Regions from separate parts of the Homo sapiens genome. Here region 2 is linked to region 1. Evidence: promoter capture Hi-C in human tissues and cell types (Jung and others, 2019). All regions are on one chromosome and are shown on one strand. Each heading gives the region's core, a stretch centred on a gene start or on the middle of the fragment in contact. The rest is flanking DNA. Distances are from core to core; before and after follow the strand shown. Region 1 holds the start of BPIFC (BPI fold containing family C). Region 2 overlaps SYN3 (synapsin III).

Region 1 (3,676 bases), core at 799-3,298:
AGAAAGGTTCTACAAATGGTTAGAAAAAAAGGAAAAACCAAACTATCATATATAATATAGAGCTCTCCATTTCTATAGTGAAAAAAACATAATAAACCAGAGAAGAAATATTACTTGTGAATGGAATAACAACTAAAATAATAAATTTTTATTTCTTTACCCTTTACAAAACTCACAGTTCTTTGAAGTGGATGTTCTTATTATCTTACTCCCATTTTAGACACGTGGACATGGAGGCTTAGAGAATCTGATGACTCGTCCAAGATCCCACAGTAAGTAAGGCACCTGGGAACCCAACCTTGTTCTTCTGGTTCCTAATTCTAGTGTTGATGAATTTATTTTTATTGAATGACTCGATACATGCTAGGGTTTTCATTTTCATCTGGGAATTTTAAATAGGAGTTGCTTGACACCATTTTCCTTTTTGTTGTTGTTGTTTAAAAGTTACTCAATTTTTTTTATTACACTTTAAGTTCTAGGGTACATGTGCACAGAAAACCAAACACCATTTTCAAGGTGGAAAAATTCAATAAGCATCTAGAAACGTTCAAGCATCACAGTGCAAATCCCTTCTTATTTTCTTGGACACAACTGGAGTTTTAAATTCCCTGCCAGCAGTAAAACCTGTTTTCCCTTCTTGGTTAAAAAAAGTTTCTGAAGTGGTACACTTTGATGGAGATCCAGGAATCCAAAATTACAGGCAGGAAAACATATTTTTCCTCTAGAAATTTTATGAGTGAAAGAAATTACTGGGGTATGAAGGGGTGAATTGTACATAACTTTTCATTGAATTGTTCAGTTACGATGATAACTTATGGGCAGGGGAGGAAAGGAACCTTGTCAAGCAAGGTGATGACTACTAAAAGGTTAAGTAATTTGGCTGACAAGTGCAGGCAGGGCTAGTTGCCTGTTAAAAGGATCCAAGATCACTTAAAAACCCCACCAGCAAGTTATCTATTTTGTTGCTTCTGGGGAATTGCTTCTTTCCAAGATTCAAAATCTCAGTAGTCATTATTTTTCCATACAAATACACAGACAGAATAATACTCCTAAATTAAATGGTCCTTGTGTGAGTCATCCTGACAGCTAAGAAAATGCCAGTCCAATTTAGAAAACACCTGAAACTCACAGATGGTCCTACTACTACTGCTGCTTGGCAAGAGCTTTGACTGACTCTGGAAAAACCGATTAAGGGAGTAATGAATGAGTAAAATGTAGCCTTCAAAACAGAGGCGCAGGTTGAAAAATTAAGTTCAACAGGTTTAAAGAAGTCTAAACTAGAAGGGTATTCCGACATATTGGTTAAGACAAAATGACCGTACATAAGAAGTCTAAATCGACAGGTATGGAACGTGGGCAGAATATTTCAAGGGATCCACTCCTCACATCTAGTTTTATAGCAACATCTCTAATGACAAGGACCTTGAGAATTCATAGCATGTCTTTTCCCCAAAACTCTATGCCTAACACCAACAAGTTCAACAGTCCAGGCAAGTGGGTGGCTAGTTTTGCTCTGGCAGGATCTAGGTCACTGATGTGCTTTAAGACCTGCCTTGAAAGCACAGAGATTATAACAACTCCTTAGTCCTAACCATGCTGATTTTGAGAGACAAGATAGAATTTTCTGCCACTGTGCTGGGTTCCCCTCTGAAATGGAGGCAAAAATAAGTCCAGATCACTGAGCAACCCTCTTAACATTGTTCCATGATGCAAAACTAAGTAGGTGGTTTAAACCAACTCTTTTCTCTCTTATGGCTGTTTAGCTGTCACTAAAGCTTTTGCCTAAGAAGCCTCCAGGTGCGCATATGTGACATCACACAAACAAACAAACAAAGATACAGAAAAATCTAGGCAGACAATAATAATAACCCAGGATATATGACAGCTGCCTGTTCAAAGTGTCCTACCAAATCTGGGACATCTCCAGTTTGGAGATCATGGCTGGCAGAGACCTGAAGTTTGTTCATGAGTCTTACCTCAAGCAGAGGAAGTGTCCAAAGCTGGAGAGCACCTTCGATTCTCTCTGCCTTTGAAGCTGATGTGTTCTCCACCTTGCGCCTTAAACTCAGCTGCTAAAAAGCCAAGATAATTAAGTCTGACTCATCTCAGTGGTGAATTTTTTTAATGCCTCTTTCAAAATGTGATACATAATTGCTTCACTACAATTACCCAATGGCATGAATGAGCACTACAGTATCTACCTAGATAAACAGACAGTGCCACCTATGCAATAATTATCTTCCTGCAAAACACACACACACACACACACACACACACACACACACCACTTGTGAAATTGTGATGGCTACTTTACCAAAATGATTGAAAACGGTGTTAAACTGCATTGGAAGAGGAAGAATTTTCCTGTCTGGAATCATAAGCTGGTTCCTTCTGGTCAGGGTGCCTGCGGTGGATGGCTCTACTACTGCCCAGAATACCTTTGGGACTTGTGGTGGATCATCAGATTCAGTCTGAAAGCATGAGGCTTGACAATCGGGCTGACCTAGTTACCTTATCACTCAGGGTAGGACCTCAGTTGGCATCTCTCAGTGTCCGTCCGCTCCTTTTCAGAATGTTATTAATGACTTACTGTTCCAGCATTCCTTAAACCTAAGTTGGGTGGGTGGGTTCATCAACTATTATGCAACTTAACATTTTCAGATTCCAAACTCCAGCCCTACTCTCATCTCCAATAAATTCATTTTAGTTAATGTGTTTTATCTATTTTTATTTTTATTTATTTATTTTTTGAGATGGAGTCTCACTCTGTCACCCAGGCTGGAGTGCAGTGGAGCGATCTTGGCTCACTGCAACCTCCGCCCCCTGGGTTCAAACAATTCTCCTGCCTCAGCCTCCCTAGTAGCTGGGATTACAGGAGTGCGCTACCACGCCCAGCTAATTTTTTGTATTTTTAGTACAGACAGGGTTTCGCTGCATTGGCCAGGCTGGTCTCGAACTCCTGACCTCATGTGATTGATCCACCCGTGTTGGCTTCATAAGTGCTGGGATTACAGATGTGAGCCATCATACCCGGCCATTAATGTATTTTAGATGGCCAGGGATTTGATTGTATGAAGTTTTTTTTTTTGTTTTTTGGTTTTTTTTTTTTTGAGACAGTCTCACTGTCACCCAGGCTGGAGTGCAGTGGCATGATCTTGGCTCACTACAACCTCTGCCTCCAGGGTTTAAGCGATTCTTGTGCCTTAGCCCTCTGAGTAGCTGGAATTACAGGTGTGCACCACCAAACTTGGCTAATTTTTGTATTTTTAGTAGTGATGGGGTTTCACCATGTTGGCCAGGCTGGTCTTGAACTCTTGACCTCAAGTGATCCACCTGCCTTGGCCTCCCAAAGTCCTGGGATTACAGGCATGATCCACCGCACCCAGCCTGATTGCATGAAGTTCTTATGGCTTATCTACACTTTTCTGGGTAAGACCCGGTGACCAACTGTCCTGGTTTCCCAAGAATGCAGGATTTTCAGTACTAAAACCAGAACAGTCCTGGGAAAATCAGGATGATAAGTCAGTCTGAAAGGAACCACAGACGCTTTCACTTGGCATTGTCCATACTTCTCACAGCTTCTCAGGGGAGTTATACCTTGGGTTATACTTACTGATTTGAACTGAGTTTCCTTAAGGTAAAGTGGGGATAGAAATAGTAACTTCCTTGATTGGTT
Region 2 (3,676 bases), core at 580-3,079, 320 kb after region 1:
TGGAAAATGAGGATGATGATGTCTACCTCACTGGGTTGTTGTGAAGATTCACTATTTCAAAAAAATATTTACTGAGCCTTGATCTGGGATACCGGGGACAGAGCAGTGAATAAGACAGGCATCTTGCACTGTTTTCTTTGTGCAGCTAGAAACACTAATTGTTTAGAATTAAAGGACAATTAATAAACATTTTAATAAGTTTTTTTCAGATACTGATAAGCCCAGAAAAGAAAAATCCATGTGAAAAATGAGACCCTGGGAGGCTCCAGTGACTGGGGATGGCTGTGCTCCTCCGCTGCGGCACACCTCCCCGAGAAGGTAATATCTGAGCTGGAAGCTGCAGAATTAGAAGGATCTGACTGGCCATGGCAAGACCTGGGAGAGGCAGAGGGAGGGTCAGGGCAGTCCTGGAGCTGGGACTGAGTTTGGCTTGGTTAAAGGAGGAAAAGGAGGTCAGTGTAGTGTAAACACAAGTGAGAGTGGGAGAGACATGGACAGCCACAGCAGGGGCAATGCCACGCTGGGTCTAGAAGGCCAAGGCATTTAGACTTCAAGTGCATTAGGGATCCACCATAGAGTTTTGAGCAGAAGAGTAATATGATCTCGTTTTTTTTCTCTTGAAATCGGATAATCCAGTCAGCCCTCTGTATCTGTGGATTCCACATCGGGATTCAACCAACCGTGGATGGAAAACATTTGGAAAAAACAAACAATAAAAAATAACAATACGACTATATTAAAAAAAACATGAATTTGGCTGGGCGTGGTGGTTCACGCCTATAATCCCAGCACTTTTAGAGGCCAAGATGGACGAATCACGAGGTCAGGAGTTCGAGACCAGACTGGCCAACATGATGAAACCCCATCTCTACTAAAAATACAAAAAATTAGCTGGGCATGGTGGTGTACCCCTGTAATCCTAGCTACTCAGGAGGCTGAGGCAGGAGAATCGCTTGAACTCAGAAGGCGGAGGTTGCAGTGAGCAGAGATCGTGCCACTGCACTCCAGCCCAGGTAACAGCGCAAGACTCCATCTCAAAAAAAAAAATAATAATAATATGGATTTAAAAATACAGTATAACAACTACTTAGTATTTACATTGTATTAGATATTATAAGTAATCTAGAGATGATTTAAAGTATGTGGGAGGATATGTTTAGATTATGTGCAAATACTATACCATTTTATATCAAGGATTTGAGCACCTGTGAAAGTCCTGGAATCAATGTTATTAATACAGGACCTGAAACATGATAGATATTTAATAAAGAACAGCTTTATTATTGTTTATCATGACTTGGCATTGCCACTAGTCATTACGGACTTCTAGAAGGTGGGCGGCCTGTGCCTACCTTCATTCTAGAGGCATGCATCTTGGTGCACCCACCTGCCTGGGGAAAGGGGAGAGGAGTGGGAACAACTCGGGACACCTCTGACTTCCTTCCTCCTCCTTGCCACATGCTGCCCCCCCACCCCCAACAAGCCAGATGCCAGTCACCTCTGCCAGGCCAAGGGGCGGCCAGGGTAGGATTGCTGGGCCCCCCTCCAGCTGGCTCCGGCTCCAGGCCTCTGAGCCGCCTTCACTTTGCCTTAAAAATGCAAAGCATTCCAGCCATTTTAATTACTGGGCATTGCATAAGCCAGCAACCAGTTCATACAAAGGAGCAATAGACAAAAAAATGATTTTTCAACATGCCTTCAGCCTCTCCCCTTCTTTCCTCCTGAAATCAGCCCCCAATCACTGCCTCCCAGGCCTAGAAAAAGCACTCCAGGTATGCACAATCTCTTTTTGAGTTTGTTGATGTGACATCAAGGTCTTTTTTCTCTAAATACTTGAGGCAAAAAGCAGTTCCAGCCACCTTCAAGTGTTTTGGAAAGTTACCGATCATATTCCTACTTGACATGCTAAGACAATCAGAGGACTCCATATTATATACACTGAGAACTCTGATATAAAACAGAGTTCATTGTGCAGTGGGTCTGTCCAGGCACCAATTCAGGGCGCTTTCAGTTCTGGAATGACTTTACTATGGGGTACTCCTAAGAAATGAACCTCAAACACAATGTTCCAGCAATGCTTTTGTGTGGAGAATTATTAGTACTTAAATATTTATGTGATTGGGGAAGCTTCCATGTTTCCTAATTCTGATTTTTCAGTAGCCTCTAAACTGTTTTAACTAAATTTAATCCAAAAATTTGTTGAGGACCTACTGGGTATCAGTATTGGTTACGTTCTTGGAAGAGGAAATTCAATTAGCCCTGTCAATTAGCTCACTTTCTAAAGAGGGAAAGTTACACAGAAACTGACAATCCCAGTACAGGGTGATGAACTTCAAGTTAGGTCATCTCTGATGGGTGCTCCCAGCTTGGGTGGGAGGAAAGGCTACTTGTAGATTGTCTTAATAATATTGACAGTGACTATTCACTGATTGGCTGGCTCTGTGCCAGGAATTCTGCTAAACGCTTTCCACATATATCATCTTATTTATTCCTTGTAACTCTGTGAGGTAGGCGCTATTGTTGTCCCTGTATCACAGACGAGAATACGGAGGCACAAGAATGTTAAGTTACTTGTCGAAGGTCACACAGTTAAGAAAAGGCAGTAGTAAGCTGGTAAATATTTAACAAGTAGCTCTACAGTACAAAGAGCCCTCATTTGCAGTGTTTGCCAATTTCTGTGGTGTAAATACTTCCATCATAGCCAATTTTAAGTTACCAAGGTAATGTTCCTAAATGCAGTAGCACATCATTATATAATATTTCCACCATACAGAAACAACAGATGAAAGTTACCCTGAAAGCATAAATAAGAGTATACTGTAATAAACAATTAAGGAGTGAGGAGTTTCAAGTGTTCATTAATATAATTTATTAGTTATAACATTATATAATTAAATTAAACTTTATTTATTTATTTATTTATTTATTTATTTATTATTGAGACGGAGTCTCGCTTTGTTGCCCAGGATGGAGTGCAGTGGCATGATCTTGGCTCACTGCAACCTCCACCTCCTGGGTTCAAGCAATTCTTATGCCTCAGCCTCCCAAGTAGCTGGGACTACAGGCACGTGCTACCAAGCTTGGCTAATTTTTTGTATTTTTAGTAGAGACGGGGTTTCGCCATGTTGGCCAGGCTGGTCTCAAACTCCTGGCATCAAGTGATTCGCCTGCCTCGGCCTCTCAAAGTGATGGGATTACAGGTGTGAGCTACTGTGCCCAGCCAAAATTTTAAATAACGCCTATGTTTAATGACCGACCTGCAAATTCCCGAATGTATAACAATAGGCTCTGACAAGCCAGGGTGAGCCAGCTCCAGTGCAGCACTGGGGTCTCTAGAACCTTGCTCTTCACCATCGCAGACAAGTAATAGTAGCTACGAGAAAAGGTCAAGGGAACGGAATGAACAAAGACCTAAGATGTGACTACCGGAGAAAAGAAACACAATCACATTTAGTGTTCACAAAATCTTTTTAACTGATCACTAGAGTATTCAGAGATAGTGAGGAGTGCAGGATGGGACGCTGAACTTGGAAATCTCCACCACAGATTAACTGTGTAACCTTGGCTACATTACTAAACGTCTCTGTGCCCCAGTGTTCTTTTCCATAAAATGGGCATGATCATAACAGCCCCTACATCATAGAGTTGTGTGAATTACATACCTTTACACTTGTAT

What was found. Contacts are between HindIII fragments. The study calls those that stand out against the background at their distance.
Region 2: a fragment that was not itself captured here is called in contact with the fragment with the promoter of BPIFC in region 1 in 1 of the 25 tissues and cell types used here (lymphoblastoid cells).

The regions. Positions count from the first base shown.
Region 1 is chr22:32,462,398-32,466,073 of GRCh38, forward strand. BPIFC (BPI fold containing family C) reads right to left here and starts at 2,049. Exons shown (of 17, transcript NM_174932.3): 1 at 1,977-2,049. The HindIII fragment of the contact is 9,351 bases long and covers 1-3,676 here.
Region 2 is chr22:32,787,505-32,791,180 of GRCh38, forward strand. The region is part of intron 6 of SYN3 (synapsin III); the gene reads right to left. Among named protein-coding and RNA genes, the nearest start is that of TIMP3, 12 kb to the right of the region's middle. The HindIII fragment of the contact is 6,054 bases long and covers 1-3,676 here.